4 separate regions of the Homo sapiens genome follow, and regions 1, 2 and 3 are each linked to region 4. The links are contacts of gene promoters, found by promoter capture Hi-C in blood cells and fetal thymus (Javierre and others, 2016). All regions are on one chromosome and are shown on one strand. The core of a region is centred on a gene start or on the middle of the fragment in contact, and the rest is flanking DNA. Distances in the headings are between cores, read along the strand shown. Region 1 overlaps GRIK1 (glutamate ionotropic receptor kainate type subunit 1). Region 2 overlaps GRIK1 (glutamate ionotropic receptor kainate type subunit 1). Region 3 overlaps GRIK1 (glutamate ionotropic receptor kainate type subunit 1). Region 4 holds the start of GRIK1-AS2 (GRIK1 antisense RNA 2).

Region 1 (3,036 bases), core at 398-2,897, 190 kb after region 4:
CTTAGGGAATCAATGGCTGAGCAACATTAGCTAGGCTCCAAAAATTCCACTAATTTACTATGTGATAATATCGTTTTAAAGATGTGGTCTTATAAAAAGTTACATTCTCATGGAACAACTTTTGCTGGAGGTATCTAGCTGACAAAATGTAGATAGTGAGATTGGTGAAGGCTAATTACTTATATGACTGTGACCTGCAAAATACAAGTGCAAAGAAAAAAAACCCTCATGCCTGGATTTTCTTCTTGGAACACTAAATACTATGAAATAATTAAATCTGAACTGCAGGTTGGGCACTTCTTTATTAGCTTTGTGGTCTTGGTCAAGTTATCTAACTTCTATGACCTTAAATTTACTCATCTGTAGAACGGGGCTAATTATACCTATCTCATAAATAGATACTACCTCTTAATTAGGTGGATTCAGTGAGATAGAATATGTAAATACTGTAGCTAATTGGATGCCAGCTAGTATCTACTTACTCTGAAATTAGTAAGTGTTAGTTGGAATTTCCTGAAAGGTACTTATGGGGACTATTATTTTGAACCACGTTCCCCTTTTCAGCCATGTCCATGAGATTACAAGGAACCACTAAGATTTATATATTTTGGATTTAAGCTAAATTTACCCATCTTGGACATAGTTATCCATTATTTTGTAATAACATTATTGGAATATTTACAAAGATGGTAAAATAGAAAAATTCAGTGCATGAGACAGTTTAGGAAGGCATATATATTCTGAAAAGAAAGTGGGTGCTATCACTTGAATTATTAAAGCCAACAAGTACCCCAGAGGTTGCTTAAGATTTCATTTCACTTAGCTAGGGTAAACCTGCCTGAAGTAGCGGAGAATTTGCTAGGTATCCCTGCCTGCGACAATAGAAACAGAAGCCGTTCAATCAAAGCAAACAGGAGAACGAGCAGCTTTAGGGGAATTAGGGCAAGAATCTCTTGTGGCTCAGCATCATTTTATCACTTGATTTCAAGCCAGCAAACTTGTTTCTGATGATTAGATATTGTTCTTAATTGCAGAAGAAGCACCTTATGGATTTCCTGTCCATCTTTATAGTATATTTCAATATTTTGTAACTAAATCACTATTGCTTCTGCCACACCTGCTTTACATTTGACACATTGAAGGGTGAGTAAAAATGATTAGAGACAATGTTTATATGAAAGACATGTCAGGAGAGCAAGAGAGAGGATCTGCTATTCCTGGATGATTTATTTCCACCCACAACCCAAAATTATACCAACCCCTCAACCTCAGATTATAGATATAACACATTCCCATCTGGAATAGCCAAGCAATACAAAAGAAGTATTAAGAAAAGTAAAACCCATCTAAAATCTCACTCCCAGGGGTGACATAGGTGAGCATTAAAATGCTCATTTTAATGAGTATTCTTTAAGACATCTCTTTTATGTACACACATGCACACACGTATACACAAACCCTTTTCACAGATATATACACAAAATTTTATATAAATGGAATCATACCTATCTGTGCTTCTTTGCAACTTTATACTTCTTTGCAACATGCTCCTTCCTTTTTTCCTTTCTTTCTCCTTTCCTAAAACCTCCTTCCCTCCCACACTGCATTTCTTCCTTTCTTCCATCCCACCTTAATTCCTTCCTTCCATTTTTTATTTTCCAGGAACAAGGAGTTAATTATATAACTTTCATGGCCTACTATCATCATTAGCCCATGCAATATCCCTCTTTATAAATACGTACCTATGTGTATGCCATTGTATTTCCCACTCTCATTACTCTCTTCCCCACCCCAAGCTGGTGAACATTCAATGGATTTAATGTATATCTTTAAATGTCTATAGTTGTTGTATGCACTTTTAAACTTACATAAATTTTGTTGTTTTACAGATATCTTTCTGATTTTTTTTTTTCTCAGCACTATCCCTGTTCTTACATGTGCACCTAACCTACTGTTTCTTTTTTTTTTTTTTTTTTTTTTTTGAGACGGAGTCTCGCTCTGTCGCCCAGGCCGGACTGCGGACTGCAGTGGCGCAATCTCGGCTCACTGCAAGCTCCGCTTCCCGGGTTCACGCCATTCTCCTGCCTCAGCCTCCCCAGTAGCTGGGACTACAGGCGCCCGCCACCGCGCCCGGCTAATTTTTTGTATTTTTAGTAGAGACGGGGTTTCACCTTGTTAGCCAGGATGGTCTCGATCTCCTGACCTCATGATCCACCCGCCTCGGCCTCCCAAAGTGCTGGGATTACAGGCGTGAGCCACCGCGCCCGGCCTAACCTACTGTTTCTAAAAGCTGCCTATTGTGCCCTGGTTCCATCCTCTACTCATTCCTTAGTGATGGGCATTTGGGTACTGCCAACTCACTGTCCCGTATACAACACTGCAACACCTTTTTTTTTTTTTTTTCTGAGACGGAGTCTCGCTGTGTCGCCCAGGCTGGAGTGCAGTGGCGCGATCTCGGCTCACTGCAAGCTCTGCCTCCCGGGTTCACGCCATTCTCCTGCCTCAGCCTCCCGAGCAGCTGGGACTGCAGGCGCCCGCCACCAAGCCTGGCTAATTTTTTGTATTTTTAGTAGAGACAGGGTTTCACCGTGTTAGCCAGGATGGTCTCGATCTCCTGACCTTGTGATCTGCCCTCCTTGGCCTCCCAAAGTGTTGGGATTACAGGCCACTTTTTTCGGTAATGTTCCCTTTCTTTGGGACATATGTCAGGAATGGAATTGCTGAGTCATGGAGAAAGTTTATATTTAACTAAGTGCGCCAAACACTTCACAGATTCTTGATTTTTCAGAAGGGCAAGGGGTGGTCAGCACCCCCAAGATGGAGTATCATGAGGTCTAGGATTCTCTTTGGTCCACAGGCTTACTCTGATTGATTCTGTGCCTGCCTGTTACAGGCAGAGAGACAGGGGCCTGGATTACCCATTGAACCTGTTTGTCTTGTAGATTTGAATTACTTATTTCACATAAAACGGGCAAAGATTTCCCCATGGATACTACTCAGATTTGAAACTAGTTTTTCCTAACGATGACATGGATG
Region 2 (3,338 bases), core at 675-3,174, 200 kb after region 4:
ATTCCTGATGTGACAGGCTGCCATGAACAGTGATATTTGGCTTCTGTTTCTAGTTGATTATACTACAAATCTATTCCTGGAGTGGAGAGATGTAGAGACATTGAAGCCAATGTATACGGGGAAGCTGTGTATTATATATGCACCCTCTCAGTTTTCACCCATTCACAAATTCCTGCCTGGACAAAATAATTCCATCACACAGCCTCGTAATTTATTTATAGTTAATCTATGACATATATGTAATTAGTTGCATTTGTCAATATAATAAAAATGTTGAATTTGCAAGGATAGTAGGCAAAATTCTTCACTAATTTTTGATCACCTTGAAAAGAACAGTTCCATTTAAAAGTTGTAGAGTTCTACATGAAGAGCAACACAATGCCTGAGCTTGTCATTTTTCTTTAACAATGTCCCGCCTAGATTTCTTTTATCAAAAAAGTACAACGTTTTCTCCCACTAGATGAGGTTTCCTCCTGCAATGCCCAATCATCCCTTTATTATTGCCTCCTCTGAGTAGATACTGCATCCTACACTCTTCATGAAATTCAGCTCTTTCTTCAGTGATGAAAAACAAATAAAGTCTGTTTTTCAGTTTGTTGGTTTTTAGTCCCAATGAGTATGTTTTCTTCTTTTGTTTTGTACTCATATGTAAGTCCCCAGAGTACTTCTAAAACAAATTATAGAGAATAGGTGGCATCTACTCAACATGATGAGTCCTGAATACCGACTGGAAGAAATTGACTTTATTTATTAAAGATCCTTTCTATCTACTGTCTTTTATAATATACTTGGCTGTCTGTCTTGCATTGATCCAACCTGATAATAAGCTTTATTAGGTCTATCCTCTGAACATCCAAGGATACTGCTGCTAAAAATTCTTAGGCGAATGGGAAGTAATGACTTACCAGATTCTCAATTTAGGTTTTATTGGTGACCTCACTGAAAAAGCTAACAATAGGATGGATAAAATTTAACTCTACTACGTACTCCAGGATTATCGTTCATTACTTTAATGTAAGTAGTGCTAAGTAGTTTAGCATAACTTTAAACACACAAGTTCTTTTTCTTACAACTATATAGCTTAGAGCCCTAAGATGATTTAGTTGTTCAAATTTTTCCCTAAAATTCTGCAATTTGAATAAATATGAGAACTCCAAGTGAATTCCAGTCTTAACATTGTATCACATTAAATTGAAGAAAGAAAAGCAAGACAACTACCACAGTGCCTTTTAAAAATCCTTCATTCATTACCTGCATTTCTCAAAGAATTTTAGAGTGATTTCAAAGAACATTAAAAGAAACACTTTTCAAAGTCCACTTTCCTCTCAATTCCTGTCTCCAAATACTCCTCGGCATGTCCAAAGCCTCTTTGGGTTGCTCAAAGCAGTATTAACGTGCTGACAAATTCTAGGGACTCTGTATATTAATTCTCCTTAAACATTGGTGGGTTAAAAATGACACTATATAGTCCGAAGACATCACCTGGCTGGCTTGCTTTACTTGGTGGTTGGTTTGGTTAGATGCTGTGTTTGGTGGAGGTAGGAGTGAAGATTGGAGAGAGGCTGAGAGAGATCGATGCTAAATTAATTCCATTTGTCCCTACTGACAATCAACAAAAGATTACCTCCAGATAATACTATCTCAGAGAACACCTGAGAACTGTAAACATTGCCTGGAATTGTCACATTCCAAGAATGCCAGCAATCCCAGGCTAAACCTCATCATCCAAAATAAAGGTTATCAACCCTTTTCCTCATATCAGTTACATGGAAACAATCACATCTTCCGTCTTGGACATTTCAACCTTTAATGTGCCATCAAAGCATTATATTTAAAAATCTGTCTTGCTTAATTTTATAATTAGAAGAACTGGAAAAGAATTGCAACCGTTTTAAGACATTTAGACTGACATGGACACTTACCATATGTAAAACCACATGGCGCTGTTATGCTATTCACGGAATGTCTCACTTAAGGTAGAGAGTAGAATATCTTCCACTTAACATGTAAACAAATGTTTAAAGACATTAGGTGACCTGTCCAGGGACACACAGCCAGTAAAGGCCAACCTCAGATTTAAACCCAGCTGTATCTCACTCCAGAGCCCCAGAGCCCAGGTGTTTTTGTTTGTTTGTTTGTTTTCATTTGTTTTTTGTTTGTTTGTTTGTTTTTTGAGATGGAGTCTCACTCTGTCGCCCAGGCTGGAGTGCAGTGGCACAATCTTGCCTCAGTGCAACCTCTGCCTCCTGGGTTCCAGCGATTCTCTTGCGTTAACCTCCCAGGTAGCTGGGACTACAGGCATGCACCACCATGCCCGACTAATTTTTGTATTTTTAGTAGAGACAGGATTTCACTATGTCGGCTAGGCTGGTCTTGAACTCCTGACCCCAAGTGATCCACCTGCCTTAGCCTCCCTCCCAAAGTGCTGGGATTATAGGCATGACCCACAGTGCCCAGCCAGTTTTTTTAAACAGACAACATTTATATTCAAGTAGAAATTCCACTTATGGTATTACTAAAGAGGTCATTTTAAGGTTAAACCATTATTGGCTCTACAGTAAAGTGTGAATGAATTTTGTTAAGTGGAAAATAATAAAATTTATTTAATCATAAGAGGCTTCTCCGAACTTCTTCTGCAAATGAGATTGTTGTACTGAGGAGTCTCCTAGGGTCATAACAGCTTGCAAAGTACATCGTTCTCTTATGCCATGGCATGAGAATTTAGACAGTTCCTTTTTCTGTGGGTACATGACAGCAAATCCCTTATAAGTTATCTGGATCACAAAAATGAAATACACGATCTGGCTTTCTTAAAGCCTACATAGCCCAAAGCACTGGCCCTTTAGCTGCTCCCTCTAGGCATGCAACAATTCAATGCTACCAGGCATTTCCTTTCTTATGTGTCAGGGCTTATCTCTGAGAACAGTAGAAAGTGATTTTACAAATCGAAAGGAAAACAACTTTTCTCCACCATGTGTATGCATTCTTACAAACCCATACTGGCCCATTTTCCCCACTCTAAAAGCTTTTAAAAAGAAGACACCTTTATTAAGCAAGCATTACAAGTCAGCATTATTGTATTCACACATATATGACAGAATGGACTATAGCGAGAGTATGTACCCAGGTCTTGCAACTTTAAAAAGGGAATGTGTTCTTAACATTTCCTAATGGTCAATTGTTTCTTTATTGTACTTGATGAATTCTTGTTGGAATTTCTGTTGGCTCAATAAACCAAAAACTCTTCAAATGAAAATAAAGTTAATGAAACAAACCAACCCGTTCACGCATTAGGCTTTTGATGAATACCTTCTGTGCACCTAACACTATAGTAGATT
Region 3 (2,974 bases), core at 224-2,723, 240 kb after region 4:
GCCATATTTCAGAATAACCCAATGGGCAATAATGATTATTTCCTCTATTTTTTTTAACTTATTAACTCATTTTGTCGTTGCTTTATAAAAGCTAAGTCCAGAGCTAGCAATTGCTTGGTGATTTTGGTACAGTCTGATTAGATAATTCCGGCTTAAAGTAACCTGTTCCTCAACAGCAGGTTTGTTTTCCCCAACCACGCAAATATTCATTCCTTTCTGACTTGATGGCAATAGACACACTTTGGTGAAAGAAAGCTGTGGGAGAAACTGTTCCTTGGAAAGCAATAGCAGGCTGCACTCTTCACCAAGCCTGGCAGGCTGCTGCCCACTGTTCTATTACAAGCACATTCATTTCAGTCGGTCAGTGCACTGTCCTTTGTAAAGTAAAGAGTATAATTTCTTAGATATAAAAAGAAAGCAGAAATCTACCAGCAGGAAATTGAACTGAGGCACTGGGAAATTTAAGAGAAAATTGTATTATTTCTTTCTGTTTTAATACAATGGATAAACCAATCATGAGAAATAACATTCTCTTGGGGCCAAGTAGGGAAAGGATAGCTATGTAAAAGTACTAAGTCAGATGATCAGTCTCTAGAAATGCTTATGATACACAGAGACAGACACACGTCCCCTGGCTTATTTGCAGATGTTAATTTTAGGTTATTTTTATGCAGTATAGCTCCTTTTATTTCCTAACCAATTTACTCAACTCTGGGAAAAGTCCCTATGTACAGTGGAACAATTATTAGGATAATTATAGTAAAACATATACTAAATAAATTTTCTGCTAGGCAGATTAAAAATAAGATCCACTCTGATTTGCCATTGTTGCCTGTGAATTATAAGTTTATAAACATGAAAGTTGGATATTTTGATAAGTATATATTTAATAGATAATGCACACATATACATGTGTAATGTTGCATATATATATATATTTACACAGACACTATCATAAGCCCACAAATCTCACATCATGAGAAATCAGACAAATATTACATTAAATTCTAACGTGTCCATACCTTTCTTAATGCTAAAAAATGTAATTTCATTGATAGTGTAGAAGTATAAAGCTTAGTTATCTTCTTTCAAAATTCTCTTCTATTAAAATGGGGGCTGAGAGGAAAGAAGAAGCCACCTACATTTTGTCTCTAGGAGCCAAGAAAATTATGCTTTAGATATTGCCCACAGTTTTAGAGATAAAGTCCAACTCTCACCTTAGGCATAAAGTCCCTCATGATCCAGCACCTGCTTTTTCTCTAGCTGCTTTGGCACTTGGGACCCTTCACCGTAAGTACACCCTGATGCAGTCTTCAAAATCTGAAATGCTAGTTCATACCCTTTTCACATGCTTTTCTGAATGGGATGTAATCGTTTTTTGGATAGCTAAGCTGAAATTGTAATTCAAAATTAATCTTTTCTGGTTTTCACACCCCTTATATTTTCTGGTATCTCTCTCTCCTACAAGGAGAGTTGTTAGAGTTCAGGAACTTCATCTGCAATGATCTTGTGTTTCCTGACACCGTTTTGGCACATAGGGGAGGCTCTACAAGTGTTTATTGAGTAAAAGAATAAATGAGTGATTGACAATGAACTTCCTCATTTCTCTTCCGAAAGCCTTTAGCAGCATCTGATGCTTCTTAACATAGTTATGTCCAGGGAAGAACAACTTCTAGATATTTATAACTCATTGTGAATATAATAAATATGTGATTATATTGAGTTAGAGTCACAGGAGGCAGGACTATGAGAGCACTGAGAAACTGAAGAATAGGAGGACTAGGCAACCACCAATGGGGGGGAATGACAGCAAAGAGAAGTCTGGGAAACAAAGACAATTTTCCTATAGAAGACTACTTTTTGCTAGAGTCAGCCAAGCTTATGAGCATATAGTTCATATTTAAATCTAAATATTTTAGAATATATGAAGAATAAACCAGAAGAAAATACATTTGTTTATAAATATATCAAACTTAAAGCAGACCCACTGTGATCATAAGATTTAGAATATAAAAAACTTACCGTTTAGTAAACAGTGCCACTGTTCCACATTAGTGGTACTTGGGTAAAAACACACAATAGTCTTATACAGTGTGGCTTCCAAAGCCCCGAGTGTGGAGAAGCCCCCAGTATTCTATATTTTGCCCCAAGAAACTTTATATTTCTGGGAAAACTAAAATCCACCTTCCAGTATTCTAAGTAGAAATGCAAATTTCATAATTTTGGAAAGGGAATAGGTTTGATTATACACTAAGAATCTGAAGAGGAAGATGGTTCAAAAAGTTAAAAGTGAAATTTTATCTATATGTTTCTAAATGATTTCAATAAAGGAGAAAAGAGGAAACTTCTTAAATTAATAAGCAGGTTTGCAAAAGACCCATTCAAAGAATTTCTGCATTAAAAGCTCATTGGGTCCATAATAGGATAAGAGGAATCAGCCCTTGATTCAGTAGCGAATATAGTATCATAGAAGCCCATAGGAGGAGTGCTGGAAGTCAAAGTTCTAACCAACTGGGGGCTGCAGAAACTGAATTGGACAACCAAGAAGATAGTTTTGTATTTTAAACTATGAAGAGTACTAAAGCTCTCTGAAGAACTTCAATGAAGACGGATATCACAGAAAAAAAAAAGATTCCTCATTGGCCATTTAGCTTCCATCTTGTTTGTACTGAAAAAAACTCAAAAGGTGAAACAGTTATTAGTAAGTGGGAACTGAAATCCATGATGGATTAAGAAGTTGTAAGTGACTCCTGCCCCTACTCACTCTTCTGCTGCTCTCCGGGAGTTCTGGCTCCTAGTTTAACTGGGTTGAACTCAAAGATATTGCCTGCCTGCAAGACTTCAGAAACAGCAGAACTAGTAGGTCTAAGAGAAATCACAGCAAATAATAGAAGACTGGTGAAGGGCAAATCACTATCTAGTTTTCAGCAAAATAACGTGGATTTTACAAGCCAAAGCTCTGAGTTTGATACTG
Region 4 (3,107 bases), core at 126-2,625:
TAAAAAGCGATGCAATAAAAAGGGTATTCAGAGAGCCACTAGTATCTATCTTCTAAACCTAGACAGTGATTCATGTAAACTCAACATCTAAAGTGGCTGAGGGAAATAATCAGGTATCTAGGGCAAAGATAAAGGTATATGTGTTTCCTGTATTACGAACCTTATATAACAAATATTTTAGTGAGGGATGTTGTAAAGATTGCTACCTTCCTCTTTTGGAAAGAATTTTGGGTGAATAATACTATTCTAAAATAAGTCAGAGTACGAGGAAAGCTTTTGGGATTTCAATATGATGAAGGTGAATTTTTGTTTAAGTTGGAGACTTCTGGAAAAAGTGCAATGTGTTTGTTGGGTCTGAGTGGGTCGCCTGTGCTAGAACTCAGGTTACCGTGAATTTTTGACGGAGTTATAACACAAAACAGCACACCACAGTATATACAACTTACAATGTGGAACATGATGGGCTACCAGGAGGGAAGAGGCATGAAGGCATGGAGGATCAAGATCAGAAAGTTACAACCCTCGGGAGTGTGTGTGGCTCTTGCAGTTTAGTGACAAATAGAGGACATCCCCCCTCCCCTTTATATAATTTCAAAGCTTGGATTCCATTCCCTGGGACATTTGTATTAGATTAATTCAAAGTGCCCAGAGTCTCAAGATGGATTAGTGTAATAGGTTTTTTTTTTTTTTTTTCTTTTTCTGGGTGCCGGTTAGGTTCATCTATTTACCAGTAAAATTTTAGTGAGGAAACCAGATCGCCTTCTACATGCACTTAGTAGCCTTGTTCACTGAAGATTAAAACAAGGCTTTTAAACCTATGCTTTGAAAACTTAAAAAGAAAAAATTTTTGAATTCATCACTGAGTACTACTAAGAGGGGGACAAGGTTTTTGGCTACAGGGAGAAACTTGTGTACACTTTCTGTGACATAGCTGATAATTTGAAAGATGAAAGTGAACCTGACAAAACTGTTCAAGTTGAACAACCTGAAGCAATTTAAGGTCCATTCATCAGTCCATAGATTTTTTTTACCAAGTAGTTTTAGAGAGAGAGAGACAGAGAGGGAAGGAAGGAGAGGAGGAAGAGAAAGAGAGAGAAGAGATGAAAGAAAATGTTTGCTTACCACGGGGACATTTCTCTGATCCAAATGTTTTTAATGTCTCATATTTGCTTACATAAATCTATGCACATTCATTGGCAACATGGCACTGTATAATAAACTATAAAATAGTGGGTGTTATAATTCACAAGATAATCTCATTTCCTTTCCAAGGTCCCTAACGTTTGTGTCCTCTTTAGAACTGTGGCTCTAAAACAAATTGCAAGACAGTATACTCTGATGAAGATATCACACAAAACAAAAGATAGCTCATGAGAAAAGGAAATTTCTGAAAATGGTTCATATTTTGTGGTGGTGACATTACAGGAGGTGTCCTAGCCTTCTGAGGCTGTAGCCTATCTGACTAGTCTCATGGATCAAATCTATTGTGATTTTTATCCCCCTTAAGGAAAATATTTAGTGATTTGAGAAGGAATATAAATAGGTCAGTGTCTCCTTCTGTTACAGTTGCCTGCTTTCAATCCTAACAAGGACTGATCCTGCCTGGGAGAAACAAAAATAATCTTGGGGGAAATATTTAATCCATAATTATTTAATCCACTGCAAACCTGTTTTCAATTCACAGGTGATGTTGTTGAGAGAGATAACATATTCAATCACTCCTCTCTCTTTACATGGAACTTCCCTTCTAAACTGCAATTGGAGAGCTACAGGTCTGGTAACATTGGAAGGGCACAGGCCTTTCCAATGACATTCCCCATCCCACCCCCAGGTTTCCTGCAGTTGTTGTCAGAGTACAAACCTTCTTCCACACTTTATACAAGTGTTTAGACACTTCGCCAGCAGCCTTGGTTTTCAGAGAGAAAAATAAAATAAAAACAGCACTTAATTAAAATGGAGCGTGAAACCCAGAAGGAATCATGGTGTGTGAGTGCTTAGAGTGTTACAGTTCCCACCCATTGTTTGGAATTTGCATCTTAATTCAATATAAAGCCTGACAATAGGTACAGCAAAGAGACGAATCAAGACTTGGGTCTCACAGAAGTTACCTGGTGGTAAGACTCAATTTTTACTTTTCCTTTCACACACCAAGAAATGCCTTAAAGTGCTTTTCAATGTATACAGGTATGCTGCAGTATTAAGGGTCTTCATTGTTCCTTAAGAAGACCCTTTTAAGGCATTGGTAACTAAAATCAATCAATTAACCAACCAACCAGCAAATCAATCAATACACACACACACACACAAACACACACACACACAGACACACACATATAAAGAAGAAGTATGCTTGATGACTTGTTCTTTGATTATGGGTTTCTGGGCAGTAGAAATTTGAGTGAAAGTGAGAATGGGATTTTTCTAATAATTTTCCCTATTGACTCCAAGAGAGGCTGACATAAAAAGATTGGGCATTTCCTCCCTCGGCTCCTGAGAGAGATGTGTTGGCTTCCCTCATTGCCTTAAGGCCCAATCAGCCTTCTCAGGAATTGAGCCCAAGACACCTGAAGAAAGAAAAGTTATTGCAAACAATGAAGAGATAAGAAACCAACACAAAACACTTTCATCTAATTTGATTTTGCCTTTGATGGAAAAACACCAATGCAATGTGCATAATATTACGGTGTATAGATAGCTGTGAAAGCATAACAATAGCTCCATCTATTTCATCATTCACCTAGCCAAAAAGATGTTTCCTTAACAGCTTTTCTTCCCCCTTCAGTGCTATACATAAGAGGAGAACAGAGTTGGGGAAAGACTCATGCTTCGAGAAGCAGACATTTTCTTAAAAAAATTATAGGCTTTTAGATCATAACAAGTATTTTTTTTCTTTTGTTCCCTCCAGCCAACATCCCATGCACCATCGTGGAGACTGGCTGGATGCCCTGTGCTCTATCAGGGCATGTCAGACCAACAGAGGGGCAAATCAGAGTGAAGAGGAAGCCAGAAGATGGGAGAGACATTTTTGAAGTGAGTAACCTGCATGTATAATGTGTACTCTCAAAACTGCAAACAAATTATTTTCCTCAAATATTTCACACTGGTGG

Evidence for each region. Contacts are between HindIII fragments. The CHiCAGO score rates a contact against its expected background, and 5 or more counts as called.
Region 1: a fragment that was not itself captured here is called in contact with the fragment with the promoter of GRIK1-AS2 in region 4 in 1 of 17 cell types (monocytes); the score reaches 5.3 in monocytes.
Region 2: a contact is called between a fragment that was not itself captured here and the fragment with the promoter of GRIK1-AS2 in region 4, in 1 of 17 cell types (monocytes). The highest score is 5.7, in monocytes.
Region 3: a contact is called between a fragment that was not itself captured here and the fragment with the promoter of GRIK1-AS2 in region 4, in 5 of 17 cell types (M1 macrophages, megakaryocytes, M0 macrophages and 2 more). The highest score is 6.2, in M1 macrophages.

What each region holds. Positions count from the first base shown.
Region 1 is chr21:29,779,700-29,782,735 of GRCh38, forward strand. All of the region lies in intron 1 of GRIK1 (glutamate ionotropic receptor kainate type subunit 1), which reads right to left. Among named protein-coding and RNA genes, the nearest start is that of GRIK1-AS1, 33 kb to the left of the region's middle. The HindIII fragment of the contact is 5,578 bases long and covers 1-3,036 here.
Region 2 is chr21:29,797,375-29,800,712 of GRCh38, forward strand. The region is part of intron 1 of GRIK1 (glutamate ionotropic receptor kainate type subunit 1); the gene reads right to left. Among named protein-coding and RNA genes, the nearest start is that of GRIK1-AS1, 51 kb to the left of the region's middle. The HindIII fragment of the contact is 2,198 bases long and covers 826-3,023 here.
Region 3 is chr21:29,835,745-29,838,718 of GRCh38, forward strand. The region is part of intron 1 of GRIK1 (glutamate ionotropic receptor kainate type subunit 1); the gene reads right to left. Among named protein-coding and RNA genes, the nearest start is that of GRIK1-AS1, 89 kb to the left of the region's middle. The HindIII fragment of the contact is 805 bases long and covers 1,072-1,876 here.
Region 4 is chr21:29,594,665-29,597,771 of GRCh38, forward strand. It overlaps GRIK1-AS2 (GRIK1 antisense RNA 2), which reads left to right and starts at 1,376. Exons shown (of 3, transcript NR_033368.1): 1 at 1,376-2,114; 2 at 2,906-3,030. GRIK1 (glutamate ionotropic receptor kainate type subunit 1) reads right to left here. Exons shown (of 18, transcript NM_001330994.2): 9 at 1,862-1,906. The HindIII fragment of the contact is 3,262 bases long and covers 596-3,107 here.